Linked DNA regions of Homo sapiens: all the other regions are linked to region 2. The links are contacts of gene promoters, found by promoter capture Hi-C in blood cells and fetal thymus (Javierre and others, 2016). All regions are on one chromosome and are shown on one strand. The core of a region is centred on a gene start or on the middle of the fragment in contact, and the rest is flanking DNA. Distances in the headings are between cores, read along the strand shown. Region 1 overlaps VASH2 (vasohibin 2). Region 2 holds the start of BATF3 (basic leucine zipper ATF-like transcription factor 3). Region 3 holds the start of RPS6KC1 (ribosomal protein S6 kinase C1). Region 4 overlaps ANGEL2 (angel homolog 2).

Evidence for each region. The method cuts DNA at HindIII sites, captures the fragments that hold promoters and counts their contacts. A CHiCAGO score of 5 or more calls a contact.
Region 1: a contact is called between a fragment that was not itself captured here and the fragment with the promoter of BATF3 in region 2, in 5 of 17 cell types (erythroblasts, megakaryocytes, neutrophils and 2 more). The highest score is 7.7, in erythroblasts.
Region 3: the fragment with the promoter of RPS6KC1 here is called in contact with the fragment with the promoter of BATF3 in region 2 in 1 of 17 cell types (total B cells); the score reaches 5.6 in total B cells.
Region 4: a fragment that was not itself captured here is called in contact with the fragment with the promoter of BATF3 in region 2 in 15 of 17 cell types (megakaryocytes, erythroblasts, total B cells and 12 more); the score reaches 13.1 in megakaryocytes.

Annotation. Positions count from the first base shown.
Region 1 is chr1:212,981,952-212,987,556 of GRCh38, reverse strand. The region is part of intron 7 of VASH2 (vasohibin 2); the gene reads right to left. Among named protein-coding and RNA genes, the nearest start is that of ANGEL2, 31 kb to the left of the region's middle. RefSeq lists an enhancer at 5,566-5,605. The HindIII fragment of the contact is 2,490 bases long and covers 2,890-5,379 here.
Region 2 is chr1:212,697,133-212,702,106 of GRCh38, reverse strand. It overlaps BATF3 (basic leucine zipper ATF-like transcription factor 3), which reads left to right and starts at 2,267. Exons shown (of 3, transcript NM_018664.3): 1 at 2,267-2,434. The coding sequence starts at 2,345. RefSeq lists silencers at 2,250-2,329, 2,520-2,969. The HindIII fragment of the contact is 2,939 bases long and covers 1,022-3,960 here.
Region 3 is chr1:213,048,242-213,053,876 of GRCh38, reverse strand. RPS6KC1 (ribosomal protein S6 kinase C1) reads right to left here and starts at 2,636. Exons shown (of 15, transcript NM_012424.6): 1 at 2,368-2,636. The coding sequence starts at 2,472. RefSeq lists a silencer at 2,408-2,507. The HindIII fragment of the contact is 5,380 bases long and covers 1-2,648 here.
Region 4 is chr1:212,997,645-213,002,626 of GRCh38, reverse strand. ANGEL2 (angel homolog 2) reads left to right here. Exons shown (of 9, transcript NM_144567.5): 6 at 1,715-1,841; 7 at 2,244-2,301. Among named protein-coding and RNA genes, the nearest start is that of ANGEL2, 16 kb to the left of the region's middle. The HindIII fragment of the contact is 4,961 bases long and covers 236-4,982 here.

The DNA of each region.
Region 1 (5,605 bases), core at 2,885-5,384, 280 kb before region 2:
TGTTGCCCAGGCTAGAGTGCCGTGGCACAATCTTGGCTCACTGCAACCTCTGCCTCCCCAGTTCAAGTGATTCTCCTGCCTCACCCTCCTGAGTAGCTGGGATTACAGGCATGTGCCACCACACCTGGCCAATTTTGTATTTTTGTAGACATGGGGTTTCACCATGTTGGTCAGGCTGGTCTCGAACTCCTGACCTCAGGTGATCTGCCTGCCTCGGTCTCCCAAAGTGCTGGGATTACAGGTGTGAGCCACCGCACCCAGCCGAACCTTGTTCTTAAGTATTAAAAAAAAAAAAAAAGACCAAAAAGAAAATATAATTGTTAGAAGGTTTCTTATTTTATGCCCTTGAAAGATTTCCTAACAGCTAATGGTTTTTCCCTGGCATAAAAGTGGTCCAACTAATTCAATGTTGATAGAACTAGAAATCAACAGCTAGCTTCTAGCTAAAGCACAGCTCAGTGAATGGCATTAATCTCTGCCAGCAATTCCACTACCCCTTTTCTCTCTCTCTCTCTCTCTCTCTCTGAAATGGGAAGGAATAGTCATCAACAGTCTGATCATTCCCTTTGAAACCTGACTGCTCAAGGTGGTCAAGAAACTATCCCTGACTAGGCCCTACTCAAATAACTTGTAACCTTACTTATCTGTTGCATGGGCCTTATTTCTTAGCTTGACCATGTGCCCTCCTTTATCGGTCAGGAATTATGCCTCTTATTTCTTTGTGTCTCTCCCCATAGCGACTGGGTCATACACATGATGCTAATTAACACAGCTGACTGCCAGTAGAAATCCCTACACTTCAGTGTGTAGACTCTGCTCATTGTATCAGAGCTCAAGGCTTCCATCCTTCAGGGGATGGTGTCCTCCAGCCTCTGCATGCCCTGGAGATTAGCTATTCCCTTAAACAAAGCCACTGCTACAGGCCTGGAGGAGTGGCCCCCAGATGACACTATGAGGACCATTCTTGGATTGACAGGAAAAGGAACACATGTTTGCTTGGGGATTCAAATTTATATTCCTACCCTAGCCCTCAGCCCACTAATGTGGACAGAACTAGGGTTCTTACACACAAGTCAGGTTTAAAGAGTCCACATGCATCTGGTTCTCTCATAAAGCCTGAAGTGAGCCTCCATTTTGTCTCCTTGCCTGAGGTGGTGTCATCTTTACAAATAGCTAATTTGAGACTTTCTCAAGTAGACTCCCCATACATTAGCATCAGCCTGATGCAAATGTGGTTAGAAAAGTAAATCACTGCTCCACAGTGTGCCCCACTTGTAGAAAATTCAGCAATCAAAAATTCAATTTGCCTGCAGGATAAGGCAAAAGGATAAACCTGCAGTACCTATGCATTCCTTGCTTTAGAAAAAGATTAAATGCAGGTCATTTCCTAGAGCTAGTAAAATATTATTTCCATACTACCTTTCCTGGTTTTGTAATTAGGTAAGCATATATTTTTTATCCAAATATAAACTACATTTGTATTAGATTTTCATAACTGATTTATCTAACGATCTGTGTGCAGCAGCGTCTATTAGTTGCCCCTCAACATCCATTCTTCCCTTCTTTAGTATAAAACACCCGTCTCCCATCCCTGATTTTTAGTTAGGTACATAGCTGCCTTGAATACAAAGTACATCTTCCAGCCTCCCTGTACCCACGCATGGCCTCAGACTAAGTTGTAGCCAGTGAGATTTACATGGAAGTGTGGTGTGGCAGTTAGTAGGACACGTCTTCAAAAGACAACTGGTATGTGCCCTTCATCTTTTTCTTTCCTTTGTTCTTCCTGCTGATGGGAACATGGAAGCGACGGCTGGAGTGGGGACCTCAAGATGGTCTCTAGGGCTGGGCACAGTGGCTTAGGCCTGTAATCCAAGCACTTTGGGAGGCTGAGGTGGGTGGATCATTTGAGATCAGGAGTTTGAGACCAGCCTGACCAACATGGTGAAACCCTGTCTCTACTAAAAACACAAAAAACAGCCGGGTATGATGGCGCATTCCTGTAGTCCCAGCTACTTGGGAGGCTGAGGCAGAATCACTGGAACCTGGGAAGCGGAGGTTGCAGTGAGCCAAGATCGTGCCACTGCACTCCAGCCTGGGCAACAGAGTGAGATTCTGTCTCAGAAAAAAAAAAAAAAAAGATGGTCTCTAAAGATGGCAGCGCAGCAGGAAGCCCATTTCCACCTCTGTTGAGCTGCTTTTACATAAAAGTGAATCATGGCTGGGTGCGCTGGGTCATGCTTATAGTCCCAGCACTTTGGGAGGCTGAGAAGAGAGGATCACTTGAACCCAGGAGTTTCAGACCAGCCTGGGCACCACGGTGAAACCCCATCTCTACAAAAAAAAAAAAAAAAAAAAAAAGCAAAAAAAATTAGCCAGACATGGTGACATGCGCCTGTAGTCCCAGCTACTTGGAAGGCTGAGATGGGAGGATCGCTTGAACCTAGGAGGTGGAGGTTGCGGTGAGCTGAGATTGCACAACTGCATTCCAGCCTGGGCAACAAAGCAAGACCCTATCTCAAAAAAGAAAAAAAAAGTGAATTATGTTTAAGCTACAGCTTACACCTAACCTTAGCCAAACCTGATCCACTAACAGTGGGTGCTAAGTCAACCTGAGGAAGGTTACTGTGTGGAGTATGGAGAACATGCTCCTAGCAAGTTCTAACTCGGGAGGAATGGCCATAGTCCAAATGAAGTCAGGAGTCATACTCACTTCTAGGAGTCAGTCTTCTTCCCTGTAACCCTGCAAACTATGTAGGACCTAAGCCATGGTAGCTCTTTAGATCTCCTGTTGTCTCTGAAAATTAAGCAGTGCATGTGCTTAACAAGAGACTGTCTTGTTCCATGGTCCTTGTAGGACCTACCAGTTAGCTCATCCGAGTTTCTGAAGCTTTCTTACATATGTTGCCTTCCTGGCCTGGCATCTTCCTCAACACCAAGTCACACCTCTCCTCCTTCTGAAACTCTAAATATGCTGCCCTTCATATAAGAAAATAAGACACTAGCTTCACAGTATTTTCAAGTTGTTGGACTAGATCTGCACTGACCTGTTATCTCTCCCTCAGTCCTGTGCCCGACAGTCTCTCCTAGAAAGTCAGTGGCCAGAACAGCCTACAGGGTAGGCTCAGGGAGAAAACAAAGCCCACCCGCTCATCCCTGTCATGGAGGCTCACTGGGATCACTGCAGCTAACTAGCCACAGGCCTGCCACCTCCTCGAGAAGCCACTTTTTGGCCACTCACCTTAATTCCTCACTTTGGAGCCCCTCAGCCCATAAATTTTTTGTAGTTTGTGTGTTTCTTAAACTTCACTCTTTACCATTACCTGTGTTCTGCTATTGGCACATTTGAAAATAGATGAAATTTAATTTGGGAACCTTTGAACTCCTTTTCTTAGTCTTTTCCCTCGCACTTGCACCAGTTTTCCCATGCCTTCCAGGTACCAGGAAATCACCATTATAAATAGCTTTTATTTATTAGACACTTAACGATGTGCCAGGCATCATTCTAAGAGGTTTCCGTGGATTAATTAATCCTCACCATAACCCACGGGGTTGATACTGGTACTGTCCATTTTATAGAGGAGATAATGGAGGTACTGAAAGGTAGGGAATTTGCTCAAAGCAAAGTCATGCAGTTAGCAAGTGTTGGAGCCAGAGTTGGTCCCCAGAATCTAGAGCCCACACCCTGAACCACAATGCAAACTTCACCCTTCCTCTGCCACCTCAAAGCATCTTTCCAAGCATCTGAGAAGGACACCATGGCCACTCCTGCCTCTGCACCTTGGCTTATGCTGTCTCCTGTCTAGAATGCTCTCCCCAACATCTCCACATCCTTAGAAGGCAATCCCAAATGTCACTAACCTCAGGAAGTATTTTCTGACTCCCTACCATCACAATCCACTACTTGCTCTGTATGCTCTGGCATTTTCTTTGGTACATTTGCTATGGCTTAAATGTGTCCCCAAAAGTTCATGGGTTTGGAAACTCGATCCTCGGTGCAGTGGGGTTGGGAGGCAGGGCTTAGTGGGAGGTGTGTGGATCCGGGGGCATCACCCTCATGAATAGATTAGTATTTTCTCAAAAGTGGGTTCTTATAAAAGGATGACTTTGGCCCCTTTGCACACTTGTGCTTGCTCTCTTTCTTTCCTCTCTCCCTCTCTTTGCCCTCTGTCATGGGACAGTGCAACAAGAAGGCTCTCACCAGATGTCAGCCACTTGATCTTGGGTTTCTCAGCATCCAGAACCATGGGCCAATACATTTCCTGTTCATTATAAAGGACTCAGTCTCAGGTATTCTGTTACAGCGACACAAAATGGACTAAGACAACATCTGTTCCAGAATCCTGCCAATTCATAATCATTACACCTGCCTCAGAGACTGTGAACAATTTGAAAGGAGGGACCAGGGAAATTCATCTATGAATCCCACTGTGGAATACGTACTTATCAATCAAATTCTCACTAACATGTAAATGGATGATAGTGAATCATCTGTTACCTTTATCATGGGATATTTTATTTTAGAGACAAAGTCCTAAGCCAGGAATTCAAGTTACCATGACAACATTTTCAGAATTAACAAGCAGGAAGAACATTTATTTTCCGTATTGGAGTGGGTTTGCTTTACCCCTGAAAGCCATGTGGGGAACCTGCCTACTCATTAAGCTGAATGCATCAACAGCTTGAGTGCTTCCAAAGGAAAGGGACTAGGTCATCTTCTTCTTCTGTATCCCCACCCCTGCCACCTTCCACTAAGTACCCAGAACCCAGGAGAAGAAAAGGGCTAATACTGACAGAAAATGAGCTAAACTGAGATTCCTGGTGAACTGCCCAGAAGATGAAATCCTTTTCTTTTACAGCAACCGTGGCTGCAATCTCCTTGGCTGGCATAGGGCAGAAGTAGGTTATCACAGCATGCCACCTGCCTGTGGGGCCCAGCCAGAAATGTCATTCAGTCCTTGCCAGCTCATCTCAGGGCCAGAGCTGGGTGAGCTATTGTGTATAGAGAGGACTCTTCCAAGTGCTCCCCCAGCTCTAATTAGAATATTGCAAGGGGGTTTATTTTTAAGAAACACGAGCACTAGGATGATGATTCAGCCGGGTCTGCACTTGCCCAGAACCTCTCATCGGATCCAGGGTTATTATTTTAGACTAATATATTTCTCCAACCCCACCTCCCTGCCATCCTCCTCCAAACAAGGCAAAGAAATGAAAGAATTTTCTTTTTTCAAGGTTCTCCGGCAACATTTTGTTTTAGGGGAAAAAGAGTAGAAAACTTTACTTTGACTCACTTTGCAGGAGAAAGGATATCCACATGCACAGACAGTCCCAGCCTCACCTGTTGTGACGTAAATGGACTCAGAGTGAACTAGGGTGAAAGCTTGATGGCCTGGCCCCAAGGCTACACTTAACCCCAATGACAGGTCTGCATTCCCGGAGCCAGCTGGACGGAGGGTGCTCAAAGCAGGAGGTAGGCTAGGGAGAACAGGGTGGTGGTTCCACAGAGAAGTTATTCTGTCAAAAATCCTACTACTCTCTGCCACTGCTATCTCAACTTTGACAGCTGCACACCAAGTCCTTCACACTCTGAGGCAGCCTCAGTGCAGAG
Region 2 (4,974 bases), core at 1,018-3,517:
GGAGTGCAGTGGTGCAATCATAGCTCATTGCAGCCTCAAACTCCTGAGCTTAAGTGATCCTCCTGCCTCAGCGTCCTGAGTAGCTGGGACTACAGGTGTGCACCACCACACTCAGCTAGTTGATTTCTTTTAATTTTTGGTAGAGTTGGGGGTCTCACTATGTTGCCTATGCTTCCATGACTTAAATAAGAATTTAATTCTGCTTTAGCTCTCTGATTTTCATTTCTGTATCTAGCTATTTAATCCATTCATTTTGATGTATGATCTTTACATCAAATTGATCTCTGCCCTAAATGCTACCTAGTTAACCAAGACTAAATGTATTTGAAGAAACCCTTGCGTAACACAAGACAGTAGACTATGCCTATATAAAGAGTTCGTGTGTGCTGGGACATGGTTTCAGGCTCCCTGGGGAGAGACAGGGAAGCAGCAGCCCCAAAGGACTTAAAATGTGATGTGGTTCAGTGAGAAAAGTGGGCATGACCAGAATAAAGTGTAGGAGTGCACGGGAATGTTCCCGAGGTGTTTCTACCTTGCCTTTTCTGTGCATAAAAAACACTGGGGAATGAAATCACTTCTGAAAATGATAACCCCTTGACCCAGATGTTTTCCTAGCTCGTTAGAGCCCTTTTAGTGCTTCAGGAATGAGAGCTTTCAGCTGACCTAGTGCAATACATATACTGAGCACCTGTTGAGTGTATGTAGCGTGCTATGCTAGGCACCTTGTGTGGGTACCTTGTGGGATGCAAAATAGTCCTGGGGCAACCACCAGTTAAGCTGAGTGATGAAATAACGGAGAGGAAAAGATTAATCCGGGCAGATAACCCAGCGTAGCGCTGGCTCTGCTGCGCAGCCTTGCTGCTGTGGAGTGTGGCGCTGCAACTCTAAAGGGCTGCGTCCACCCTCCGTCTTCCTCCCCGCCTCTCAGTTGGCCGAAGCTTCTGATCACACAGACAAGAATCTCCGCTCGCTTTCCCGCTGGCCTCCAGGCAGCCAAGTTCACTCAAGCTCTCTCAAAGCTTTTGCAAGAGTGGGTCTTAAATCCTGGCGGGGGGCACGTGCACTCATTTAAGACTTAAAAAGGAATCGGAAATGACTGTCCCCATGCCCACTGCTGCCCACAAACCTGAAGACCCAAGCGACCACACTTGGTAGGCACTTCTGCCCTTCTGGTCTGGTTCCCACCCGCCCATCCCGAATCGCGGTTATCTTTCCCGGTGCTCACAGCATGCAGACCACAGCCTGTGGCCGCTAGTGTTTCCTTCGCTAGGACCACGGGTAATTGTCTTGGCTTCGCATCTTTTGACTGGCAGGCAGGTGGACAGGGACTTGCCCTACCTCAACCCGGTCCCCAGCTTGGCACGAGCAGATAAATCTTGAAAAAGAAAAATGATCTGGGCCGTTTAACCGTGGCATGGCGGGTCCAGATCCCCAAACCTGTCACTAGTGACGTCCCACGTGGCAGATTCGCTCTCAGGGAAGCCCGTCACCGTTTTTGTCCGGGACATCCTCCCCATGCCCACCCTCCGCTCCGGGAATTCACCCTCGGGGCCGCCCCGCCTCGTTCCCTCCCACAGCCCGGCGGACCCGAGACGGGAAGGGCAGGCACTCCCTGCAGAGTCCCTGGGGCGCCCGTGGCTCGGGGTGCGCGGTGGGACTCGGTGAAGCCGGCGTCTTCACCCCAGAGCCGCGGCTTCGGGGCCGCTGGAGGAGCGAGAGTGGCGCCCGGATGACTGATCGCCGCGGAGAAAGTCCCCCGGGACTGTGACCCCCGCGCCGGGGGGCGGACGCAGGGCGTGGCTGAGGCGCAGGAAGATGCCGCGATGGGACCGGGAAAAAACACCGACCCCAAAACACCCACTGTGTTTCTCAACCTGAGTTCCCCGGCAGCCGCCGAAGGACCCCAAAGGCTGCATGGCGCCCCCCTGGTCCCCACCCCCCCGGGCGTCGCCTCGCGTGGGTGGGCTTCGCGTTCCCTCCGGGGTTTCAGAGCCACCACGTGACTTCCACGAAGCGCGGGGCGCCGGCGGAAAGCCGCGGCAGGGGTGGGATTTGGGACCCCGAGGTGCGGAGAGAGGGCGGGCAGAGGAGGAAACGAGGCGGGGGTGGGAGAAGGAGGGCGGGGCAGACGTGGGACGGGAAGGACGGCTGCCGGGACTGGCGCGCGGGGACACTGGGCCGACGCGTGGAGTAGCGGGGAGAGCGGGAAGCCTGAGGGGGCGGGGCCGGCGCGAGGCCGTGGGTGCGGCACGAGGATGCCGGCGGCGGGACAGCGCCCGTAGGCAGCCCCACGGGCAGGGCGCGCGGGCGGGGCGGGGCGGGCCGGGCCAGAGGAGCGCCCGGCATGTCGCAAGGGCTCCCGGCCGCCGGCAGCGTCCTGCAGAGGAGCGTCGCGGCGCCCGGGAACCAGCCGCAGCCGCAGCCGCAGCAGCAGGTAGAGGGCGAGAGGCTCAGGGAGGGCCGTGGGGTGCGGGGACCGGCGCGCCGCGGGGGGCGAGGAGGTGGGTGCTGGAGTTCCGTGGTGGTGACTGCGGAGGTGCAGAGGTGGCGGGTGCGGCCGGAGACAAGCAGAGGTAGGGGCGTAGGGATGTTGGGGAATGGGGGCGATCCAGGGACCCTGTCGTGCGCACAGTGTCCGCGGCTCCTGGAATGGCTCCTGAGCCAGCTCCTGCGCCCTCTGGGGGAAGAAGCCCGAGGGCGCCGACGCCTGGCTGGGCCGGGCATGGCCGGTGCTCCCCGGCACGTGGGCTCCGCACTGCCCTGAGGGCCGCCCCATCCTGGCGCAGCCAGCGACTGCCACCCCACCACCCGCGCCTGTAGCCCCTCCAGGATTCCCCCGGGTGGGGGGGGTGCTGCCGCGGGAATGGAGAACGCCGGACTAGTCAGCCTGGGCGGAGGGAACCCACAAAGGGCCGACTCCGCCCCCAGCTGGTGGAAACCCTTTGCCCCTTCCCAGTTCGCTGTCCCCTAGCAACGTTTACAGCGGCGCAGTCAGGAAGGAGACCAGGTTGGCCACAGGGACGGCCGTCTGGAAACTTTGCCTGGGTCTTGGCCACCTGCCTTACGACGAAGACTGGGTCTTTTCATCCTTACTCCCCACCTTCCCAATTCAGCGCCCGGCCCATGTCATCAGGTGTCGCTGGAGTGTCACAGAGATCTGAGTTTGGGCCTGGGCTTTGCCACACACAGGCTGAGCAGCCTTGAGCAATTTGTTTAACCTCTCGGACCGTCCATTTCCCCATCTGTAAAATGAATATAGTAACATCAACCTCTCAGGATTTTTGAGACTGAATCAGATATGGTTAATAACATAATACTATCTCTAACTTTCGCTCACCTCTTTCTGTCTTGATTAAATGTTTCTGCTGGGTTGGCAGGTGTGATCATGGTGATGAGTCCAGTTTAGAGTCAGCTCCCCGAGGGCAGTATGCAGGCTGCTTTCTTGTGCTAGTGACTTTTTGATTACAGAGAGCAAAGAGGCATGAGAAGCACTATGCAGAATACATTTTTTTTTAAAGTAGCAACTTCAACAAAGGCAGGTAACTTCTTGAGGGCATACTGTATGCTGGGAGCTTTAGGACAAAATCTCATTTCATCGCATCCCAATCCTAAGCATTAGGCTGTTAGCACCAAGTCTGCAGAGTTCACTGACCCTTTGTTTAGGGCTTGTATCCCCAGTGTCTAGAACAGTGTCTGGCACATGGTAGGTGCTCAGTTAATACATATTGAAAGAATGAATGAATTATGCTTACAATAAATGAGAAAACTGAAAATTTAGAGAATTTAAACCATTTACACAAGACCATGTTGACACTAAGAGACAAAACTAGGATCTGTGTGATTCTAAAGCTAAAGAGCTGTCTTCTAACCACATGTTCCCCTGTAATGTTCTGGTTTTGTTTATCAAGACTTCTTTGCCTCTCTAGAAGACTGTATTATCATACTTTGTTCCCTTAAGCTTCTATTTGCTATGTATGTTATTTATTCCTCTCCTTTTTATGCCTTTATATTCTTGCATATCTGAAACTTCTTACCTGCAGTAACTTGGGAAGATGTGTGTCTTATGTGGAATACAAGATGAGATCAAATGATAACTGAAAATATCCTTTTTTGTGTTATTAATATTTGCATTCCGTGAATATTAATAACTGAGTAGTTTTCCTTGTTTGTACCTCTTGGCTCTTAAACTCTGTAAGTGTGGTATTTTTCCCGCTTGGTGGTGTCTTCTCATGGGGTTCTAGAAAGCAAATACTGCTCTCCTTTTTCATGTTTTCTATAGCTGATTGAAGTGTTTTTACCATGGTCAGTGCATTTTTCCGCCTGCCTGTTTCATGATCACTATTGAGGGATTTGACTGAATTTGGTTAAATCTTACATATAGCTAACAGCTTTCAAGACACATAAAAAATTTGCTGACTTCTGAAACAAAATGTCAGCCAAGCATTGTTCAAATGAGTACACTGTCAGTGGGGTTTAAGATCATTTGGTGTGTTGGTAGAGTTATGTGGCTGCAATTAGTTGTAAGTGTAATCATGATTTGCATGCAGTATCAAAAGTACCTTTCATGTGTGGTGGTATAAGGACTGGCAAACAGCAAGTTCCAGATAGCAGATCTCTCCACCGCCCCCCACCCCCACCCAGCTTTCCAGTCTCAGATGGACGACATTGACACCACAGCTCTTCCAGGCACACGCCCTGTGGGCTAGAGGTTTATGAACGTTGATTTGGAGACCAACAGACCTGAGTTCCACTTCCCACTCACCCACTTAGTGGCTGTAATACCTGGAGCAAGGTCCTTAACCTCTCTGAGTTTCTTATTCCTCATCTTTTAAACGGCGGTCACACCACACACTTCACACACTCACATGGTGAGTGCTCCTGGGCAAGGGGCTGTTGTGAGCCCATTGGTATAGCAACTAGTGGTGCTGTCTACTGCAAAGCAAATGATGAAGCTCAGTGAACAACGCTGAGTGA
Region 3 (5,635 bases), core at 1,387-3,886, 350 kb before region 2:
CAAGAGAGCGAGACTACGCCTTGGAAAAAAAAAAAAAAAATTCTGAATTTGGTTAACCTTTCCTTTTGTAAAGTAACAATACAAATAATTATACTCAGTGCTTCCAATTCCAGTTCCACACACATTCATACCTCCAGGTCTTTATGGACTCTACCCCTTCAACTGTCTACCTTTTCATACCCTCTCCTTTTCTGGATTCTTCCCCTCTTTCAACTATCTTGATTGGTACATATTCCCCAATCTCTTGATCCAGAAGCAATCTGTCTTCCCACAGCCCTTTTCTGTAGTGTCTGCTGGAACTTCCTGTGTTATATCACACTTAAGTATACTAAACTCTCTTCTACTATGAGTATCCTTGAAAGGAATAAAGATCCCTGCTTTATTCAGCCTTATGTCCCTCAGTATTTAGTGCCTGGATCTAAACATTTATTGGGTGTGCTCCGTACAATGAAGAGGAAAACATTCAACAATGTTTTTCAGGCACTGTGTGCCATGCACATGCATGTTCTTTTATCTATTATTTGATATAAGCAGAAACAAATGCCAATGATAGAGAACTGCTCTAAATCCACTAAGAGACACAGACATGCAACTAAATTAATACAATATAACTTTCCTGTTAAATTAACGGATAAGTAGGATGCTGTGAGAGAAACATTACGTATGTTGAAAACTGTTCTGATTCCATACACTATGTGTTAGGAAACTAAGCCTAGATTTTCAAAGGGCCCAATGACTAGAAAGGTTTCAAGAGTGGTATAATAAGGGCCCCTCACTCTCACAAAATTTCTTACACAACCTGAAACTAACATTCCACCCATGTAACAACCTTAAGTGCAAGCAGGGAGCAACAAACATCCCTCTATTCTCCGAACAGCAATCGGCAATAGCAGGTCAGGTCTTCTCATTATCTTTATACAGACATGTTCATCTATCCCTCCTTCTCACATTTATCTGAATTGTGCACCATTTCCATACATCACGTGCCACTCCCATGCCCCAAACTGATCTATTTAACCTTTAAGATTCTTCTCAGGCTGGGTGTGGTGGCTCATGCCTGTAATCCCAGCACTTTGGGAGGCCGAGGCAGGCGGATCAACTGAGGTCAGGACTTCGAAATGAGCCTGAGCAACATGCAGAAACCCCATCTCTACTAAAAATACAAAAAATTATCAGGGCATGGTAGCACATGCCTGTAATCCCAGCTACTCGGGAGGCTGAGGTAGGAGAATCGCTTGAACTCAGGAGGCAGAGGTTGCGGTGAGCAGAGATCATGCCATTGCACTCCAGCCTGGGCAACAAGAGCGAAACTCCGTCTCAAAAAAAAAAAAATTATTCTGAAGGCCTGCTTTACATCCTCCAAATGTATATTGAACTACTGTTACTTAATCTGTACCTCTCTTCTTTAAAAATTGATAAAGTTAATTATTAACATTTTATATAACTTGGAGTTAGGCAAAACTGGTTTCAGATCCCAGACAGATCTGCTACTGCCTTGCAATGTAAAGTTGGGCAAGTTACTAAACTTGCTTTAATCTATTTCTTCCTCATTAAAATGAGAATTAAATTGGGTGATGTGCATAAAATGCCTACTATACACATATATTCATGCACACATACGTCACATACATATATACTTATTTAATTTTGATTTATTCTTACTTTCCTAGAAGATGCAGACTCTCTTTAAAACTCAAGGCAAAAGCAATGAAACATAAAGTGGGTACTAAAAATTGGACCAGTTAGTTGATGTAAAGGAGCCTCCCAACTTTAAAATGTGCCCTCATGGTAGCTCACACAAGCCACCCTCAGCAGATTTTTTTCACGTCTCCTACTGAAAAACATGAAAAACTCAAAGGTTTGACAAAGCCCGGATCCACAGTTCCTAGGTTGGTGGCCTAACACTGACATCTGTCCCAAGAATCTGTCTTTCTCACAGCAAACCTGATAAAGGTCAAGAGAAAAAACAACTTATATTACATAAGCCAAACAATACATAAATTAACACTTTTTAATCTGCATTATCTTCCTGGAGCAAGCAAAACCACTTCTGCAAATTGCGAACTCAGAAGAGAAAGTCCAAACGGGATGGGAACTGAGTCATCAATTTAAAACCATCAACCACTGACTGCCCCACCCCCAGAAAGAGGACTCTACCACGACCTACTACAGTGAAGCCCTGGGCATATCACACTCAGCCACTACTCTAAAAATCCCAACCTCCGACACCCAAGTCCCGCCAGTAGGAGCAGCACCCAGTCCCACCCTCGGCTCTGAGCCAGAGTCAGGTACCCTCACATCAGGGTCCCCACCCCAGATCCTCAGGTCCCAATCCAAGCTCTACCCCAGCCCGACACCGGCACTCACCCGGGCGGTGACCTTATATACTGTGTAGCCCCTCGGGTGTCGCTGGGGCTCGGTGACAGTGTAGAAACGGGCCAGGTCGGCACTCCGCTCCCGGTAAGAGGTCATCCTCCCGCCGCCTCTGCCGCCGCCGCCACCCGCCCGGGATCATGAGGGAAACCCGGCGCCGCCGCGGTCCAGGTTCCCCAACGCAGCGGCGAAGCGGCGAGGGGGCGGTGGCTCCAAGGCGGCTCCACGGCGGCGCCTCAGCTGCACAGCTCTGCTTCCGGGTCAGCAGAGAAGCTTCCGGGCCAGGCTATCTCCCGCTTCTAGGGGGAGGGGAGACTCCTCCTTAGATTCTAGCCCCTTTGGGGCACCTGGGACTGGCCTGTAGTTGAAGACTAAGGGGTCGCGCTGCCACCCCCGTCACTGCGGAGACCTCAGGCCTCTCCACTAAAGACGACCTCTTGTACGCTAGCTCCGTCACCTTTTATGAGATTTTATGAGAGTTGGTATAGCCACGCCACACCGGGAGAGCGTGGTCCTCCCTGCCTCCGCCCCGCCGTGGTACAAACTTAAGTGGAGTGTTGAAGGGATGGAGAGATACCATAGCCTAGCACCTTCTTTCCTTACCTATTCACAGCCTATCATTTTAAATACCCACAGCAACATCTCATTCTCTGAGACATATCCCTTACTTCTTTCTAAGACGAATTTCCTTCCATTGAGCGCCTTTCTGTAACACATCTGCACAGCAAGCCCCCAACCCAAAAAAGCTCCCAAGCCAATATCAATCTTTTAAAAATCCCCACAGGTTCGAAAATCTGGAGTCCGCCTCTGGCTAGAAGAAAGAAATATGTCACTCGACCTCTCCGAGTCACTCACTACAGTTTCCAATTTCAGCTGAGGTTGTTATCAACGCTTGGCAGTTCCTTTATCTTTTTGTGATCAAGGTTCCTTTTCATTCCACAAAATATTCATGCCAAGTCTTTGCCATTATCCTAAAGACTCTGTTCCTCTTCCTTTTGCCTCCCTACTCTCCGCACCACCACTCTTCTTTACAGGGAAAAAAGAAGAGGAAGAAGCAGCTATGGCCCTTAGTACCAATTCCTTTGTCTTCTCACATTTCCATGCCAGTCTGAAACGTACACATATCACTTGCTCATTTTTACAGCTAATGACTCCACATGTGATCTGAATCCCATCCTCTTTGGCAAACCTTAAGACACTGTTTCAATGACATTCCAAATCTCCTTTCTGTATGTTTAATCTCTTTCTCACCACTGGCTCCTTCTTTTCAACCTACATATATCTAAGTCTATTAGTCATTCATTAAACCTGAATTCACCACCTACTATGTGCCAGACATGATGCCAATTTGGCATTGGAGTTACAAAGATAGTCCCTGTTCTCCGACCGGGCGCGGTGGCTCACGCCTGTAATCCCAACACTTTGGGAGGCCGAGGCGGGCGGATTACCTCAGGTCAGGAGTTCGAGACCAGCCTGGCCAACATGGTGAAACCCCGTCTCTACTAAAAATACAAAAAATTAGCCAGGCGTGGTGGCAGGCGCCTGCAATCCCAGCTACTTGGGAGGCTGAGGCAAAAGAGTCGTTTGAACCCGGGAGGTGGAGGTTTCGGTGAGCCAAGATCGCACCATTGCACTTCAGCCTGGGGGACAAGAGCAAGACTTCTCTCAAAAAAAAAAAAAAAAAAAAAAAGGTAGATAGTCCCTGTTCTCAAGTACCATCTAGTAGGAAAAATAAAGACACAAAATATACTGTGATAAGTACCATGGTGAATGTATATATGGAGTACTAAAGAGCACATCAATTCAGGATGGAAGATCGCCTAAGGCTTTCTGATAGAAGACTGAGTCTTGGAAGAGAGATGGGAGTTAGCCAGGAGAGAAGGGAGTAAAGGGCATTATTCATTTTGCCTTCTTTTCTTCCTTTCTTTCTCCTTCCACTCACCGTCAAAGTTGTTTAAGTTGATTTTAAAGTAATCTACATCAACATTGCATCATCACCCATTTATTCCCATGTCCAATTCAATCTGGTTTCACCTCTATATTGCTACTCTGAAACTGCTCTGAAAACAGTTTCCAGTGACCTCAATTTGCCCAATATTTCTGGATTTTGAAAGTCTCTGACCATTTCTACCTTTTTAAAACTTTTGTATATTCTTAGCATATGAGTCAGCATTATTTCTCTTTTCTCTTTTATACTCAGATGACTTGCTCTTTTTTCAGTCTCCTTTGCTGGTTTCTATTCCTTCCAAGAACTTTTAGTATTCTTGTTTCTCAAGATTTTGCCTTTGATCCTTTGTTCTTTATTCCCATTGACTTGCAAATGTCTATCTCCCAGCATATCTCTCTTCCAGGACTTGACTCACTTTACCTACATCTTTATTATATATCTAACACTGGAAACAGAACAAATCAAAATCTCAACATTTTTTCCCCTCATATACCTATTTCTATCTCCATGACTGGTTTTACTCTCCATTTAATTACATTAGTTAGCTATTTGATATCATCCTTAGCAACTTCCTCTCCATGTTCTCTGAGTTTCTTTGATTTACCAGATATTATTGATTAAAAATTTAAAAAGTGGAAAAACATGTGCCACGAAAACACTACTAGAAATACTTAAGACAAAGAAATATGATCAGGAATAAAGAAGGACAAAACTTAAAGAATTCAATTCATAAAGAAGACAGAGCAATTCTAAATGTGTATATACCTAATAACAAAACTAAAAATGTAAAAAGCAAAAACGATTAGAACTAAAAGAAGAAATAGACAAATCCACAATTATAGTTAAAATTTCAACACTCAGGCCTGGCATGGTGGCACATGCCTGTAATCCTAGCACTTTAGAAGGCTGAAGTGGGTAGATCACTTGAGGCCAGGAGTTCAAGACCAGCCTGGCCAACATGGCAAAACCTCATCTCTACTAAAAATACAAAAATTAGCCGGCGTGGTGGCACATTCCTGTAACCCCAGTCACTTGGGAGGCTGAAGCACAAGAATCACTTGAACCAGGGAGGTGGAGGTTGCAGTGAGCCAAGATCATGCAACTGCACTCTAGCGTGGGCAATAGAGCAAGAATCTGTCTCAAAAAAAACAAAAAAGATTTCAACGCTCCTCTCTCGGTAATTGACAAAACATGTAAACAAATAAATGAATAAGGATACAGAAAACCTGAAAAGCTCTATCAACCAACTCTACCTGATAGACATTTATAGAACACGCCACTCAATAGTAGCAGAAAATGTTTGTTTCAAGTGTA
Region 4 (4,982 bases), core at 1,467-3,966, 300 kb before region 2:
TAATGTGGATGAAACCACTTTATATTGCAAGAAGATGCCATCTAGGACTTCATAACTAGAAAGAAGAAGTCAGTGCCTGGTTTCAAAGGACAGGCTGACTCTTTTGTTAGGAGCTAATATAGCTTGTTACTTTAAGTTAAAGTCAGCATTCATTGACCATTCTGAAAATCCTAGGGCACTTAAAAATTATGCTAAATCCACTCTACCTGTGCTATGTCAGTGGAAAAACAAAGCTTGGGGATGACAGTGCATCTGTTTATGGCATAGAATATTTTAAGCACACTGCTGAGACCACTATTCAGAAAAACAGATTCCTTTCCAAAGATTACTGTTCGTTCACAAGGCACCTGGTCACCCAAGAGCTCTGATGAAGATGTACAAGGAAATGAATGTTTTTTCATCCCTGCTAACACGGCATCCATTCTGCAGCCTATGGAATCAAGGAGTAATTTTGTACCTACAGGTCTCCTTATTTAAGAAATACATTTCATAGGCTATAGCTGCCATAGAAGTGATTTCTCTGATGGATCTGGGGAAAGTAAATTGCAAACCTGCAAAGGATTCAGCATCCTAAATGCTATTCAGAACATTCGTGATTCATGGGAGGAGGTCAAAATATCACCATTAAAAAGAGTTTGGTAGAAGTTGATTCCAGCCCTCATGGATGACTTTGAGGGGTTCAAGACTTCAGGGGAGGAAGTAACTGTAGATGTGGTGGAAATAGCAAGAGAACTAGAAGTGGAGCCTGAAGAATTAACTGAATTGTTTCAATCTCATGATAAAACTTAAATAGATGAGGAGTTGCTTCTTATAGATGAGCAGAGTATTTTCTTGAGATGCATTCTATTCCTGGTGAAGATGCTGTGAACATTGCTGAAATTACAACAAAGGATTTTAAATGTTACATAAATTTAATTGATAAAACATTGGAAGGGTTTCCAATTTTGAAAAAAAGTTCCGTGGATAAAGTGCTGTCAAATAGCATCAGATGCTACAGAAAAATCTTTTATGAAAGGAAGCATCAATGGCTGCAGCAAATTTCATTGTTGTCTTATTTTAAGAAATTGCCACAGCCAACCCCCACTTTAAGCAACCATCACCCTGATCAGCCAGCAGTCATTAATATCTAGGCAAGATCCTCCACCTGTAAAAAGATGATGACTCACTGAAGGCTGAGATGATTGTTAGGATATTTTAACAATGAAGTATTTTTAAATTAAGGTATGTATTTTCTTAGGCATAATGCTATTGCACACTTAGTAAACTACAGTATAGTATAAACGCAACTTACATGCACTGGGAAACTGAAAAAATTATGTGACTTGCTTTATTGAGATACTCACTTTATTGTGGTGGCCTGAAACCAAACCCGCAGTACCTGTGAGCATGCCTATATTTGATACAATAGGAACTATATTGCAGGTAGTAAAAAATGATGAATAGTGTTAGTTCAAAGCGATAGATGATTTGTATGTCCAAATTAAAGAAAAGCATGTATGGGAAAAAGATTGTCATTTTTATGTAAATGATAAGTGCTTTCTGAATTGTATTTAAAGAAAAGAAGATTTTATAAGTCCAAAGAATCACTTAATACAATGAATAAAGGGTAATAATTTACCACTTTTGGATTACCTTTTATTTAAGACATAAATTTTTCAACTCATAAGCTATTTAAAATCTTTTCACTTAAGATACCTGTTGAAATTTTGTTTAGGTATCTGGCCAGGAACAGTCTTCACGGGGACAAAGAATTTTATCTATTCCAATTTGGCCCCCAAACCTAGGTATCTCACAGAACTGTGTGTATGAGGTACAGCAGGTACCAAAAGTAGAAAAGACAGGTAAGTGTTTGTAATACATTTTGGCAGTCTGCTGGGTAATCATGTTCCCTTTGAAGACATAAAACTAAGTTTTTAAAAAGAAAAAATCTCAGGGATGAATATTCATATATATAAATATGTAGTTATTCATTTTTTTTCTTAAGACCTCTAAATTTACCTTTTTAAAGTTGAACTTCCAGAATTATCTGTGCATGATTTACTTGCATGTTGCTTTGGAATTGTTTGCATTTTTCTATTTTTCCTAATTCTGGAGGCCATCGAAATATATAGATTCCAGAATGAAACATGTAACTAGGCATCTTTCTAACCTAGATAAGTCTTAAATATTGTTTCTAGAGTAAGATGACGATATTAAGGCAAACTAGAACAATAACATTAATATATTTTCCTCTATTCTTACAGACAGTGATCTGACACAAACACAGCTGAAGCAAACAGAGGTCCTAGTGACAGCTGAAAAGTGAGTTCTGGAAAGCAAAAGGAGACATTTGCTAACTTTAGTTGAATAAAAAACTCATTTCTCAAAAATCACTTGGATAAAAAAATGAAGGTGATAGTATTCCGTGCTGGTGAAGGGTGCTGGCCCTTAAGTCAGATAGGCCTGAGTTCCAGTCCTGACTCTGCTGTGTTTTAGCCGAATGATTTTGAGCAAGAAACTTAACATCTCTGAGGTTCAGTTTCTTTGTCTATAGTTTGGATTGTTGTGAGGATTAGATGAGACAAAGCATATAAAGCACAATGTCTGAAACATACCTAGGCACCTAGGTAGTGTTAGGAAGGGAAACAGCTTGTCTGTGGACCTGGACCAGCTCAAATACTCTTTGAAATTCACATACTTAAACAAAGGTCAAGATCACATAAAAATATCTTTCAGATCTCAAAAGGATCTTTAGTTGTCTTTGATTTACTAAATCTCAAAACCATCTATAAGAGAATTGATCCAAAAATGAATATGCCAGTTGAAAAGATGATCATTTTAATTTATCTCTTGAACTGTAGGAGAAGATTGTCAGAGGGGTGAAGATGCTGGAATTCTTCATTAAAGAAATAGGAATATTTGGGGCTATGGTTGAGAAATTGATACATGTTAATAAAACAGGACAGAGACTTAAATCTTGTCTCAGGGAGATTCTTGAAATATCTTGATTGTTAATTATATTGTGGCTGTTTTATAGTTTTTTGTTTTAACATTTAAATTTAGGGACCAATTCTCATTTATTTTATCTGCTTCTCAATCTTTATTTTGTATACCTTGTTTTGAGAAAATATTACTACATAAATAAGAACTAGTAAGAATGGAAGCAATTTTTAAAAAAATTTTTTAAATGAATATTTTAAAATTCATGATTAAACCTTTCAATATAGTAAAAACTTCTTTGAATAAGATTAATAAGGAGGCTAATCTAACAAGTACTTCGTTTTGAGTAACTCTTAAATCTTTTTGTAACAATATAGGATATAAAAAAGATATTGGCTGGGCGTGTTGGCTCACGCCTATAATCTCAGCACTTTGGGAGGCCAGGGCGGGAGGATTGCTTGAGCCCAGGAGTTTGAAACCAGCCTGGGCAACACAGTGAGACCCTGCCTCTATTAAAAAAAAAATTAAAACATTCTGGCCGGGCGTGGTGGCTCGTGCCTGTAATCTCGGCACTTTGGGAGGCTGAGGTGGGTGGATCACGAGGTCAGGAGTTCAAGAGCAGTCTGGCCAAGATGGTGAAACCCCATCTTTACTAAAAATACAAAAAATTAGCCGGGCATGGTGGCATGCACGTGTAATCCCAGGTAGGCTGAGGCAGAGTATTGCTTGAACCCTGGGGGGCAGAGGTTGCAGTGAGCCGAGATCGCACCACCGCATTCCAGCCTGGGTGACAAAGCAAGCCTCCGTCTCAATAATGATAATAATTTTAAAAAATAGATACCTTACTTGCCCTTGGTGTCTAAAAATTAAAAGAAAAAAAGAGGCCGGGCGCGGTGGCTCACGCCTGTAATCCCAGCACTTTAGGAGGCTGAGGCGGGCGGATCATGAGGTCAGGAGATTGAGACCATCCTGGCTAACACGGTGAAACCGCGTCTCTACTAAAGATACAAAAAAAAAAATTAGCTAGGTGTGGTGGTGGGCGCCTGTAGTCCCAGCTACTCGGGAGGCTGAGGCAGGAGAATGGTGTGAACCTGGGAGGTGGAGGTTGCAGTGAGCTGAGATCATGCCACTGCACTCCAGCCTGGGCGACAGAGCAAGACTCTGTCTCAAAAAAAAAAAAAAAAAAAGATACTTTTTTGTATCTTTATGTAAATACAGAGTGTTTATATGCATAGCTTATATCTGTAAACTGAAAAATTGATAGATAAGAGTTTGCAGAAGACCTATTTTTATTTATTATTTTTATTTGAGAGTTGATCTCACTGTCATCCAGGCTAGAGTGCAGTGGCATGATCTTGGCTCACTGCAGCCTCCACCTCCCAGGCTCAAGCCTTTCTCCTACCTTAGTCTGCCAAGTAGCTGAGACCACAGGCATGTGCCTCCACGCGTAGCTACTTTTCTAGATTTTTTTTTTTTTTTTGTAGAGATGAGGTCTCACTGTGTTGCCCAGGCTGGTCTCGAGCTCCTGAGCTCAAGCAATCTTCCCGCCTTGGCTTCCCAAAGTGCTGGGATTACAGGTGTGAGCCACCGCGTCCGGCCCTATTTTATGTTTAATATTATAAATCCTTAGACATAAAAAGTTGCTAATAAAACTTAGAGGGCATTTTTAAGGATTTACCTTTGTTCCTGACATATGAACACTTTAAAAGCAAGGGAAACATCTTCATCTATGTATTCTCAGCACCTGACATATTGCCTAGAACTTAGAAGATGTTTGGTAAATGTTTGTTGGATAAGTTTCTTTTTTAATTTTATTTTCCTTCAAGGCATAAAAGATCCTTAAGATTCATAAAGTATCACTAGAAAATAGTCTTTAAACCTTTTACTCATAACATCACATATATTTGTGCATGGGGCAAATATAATAAACCATTAGAGAAGCTGTTTTAAGATGCAGTACAAAATTATATGTGATAGCAAGAAAAATTAGAGAAGAATATGGCCTCTCTGTCATCAAAAGTCTAGAGGATTCCAAATAGTGTTCCTGAAGACCCCCTTGATTC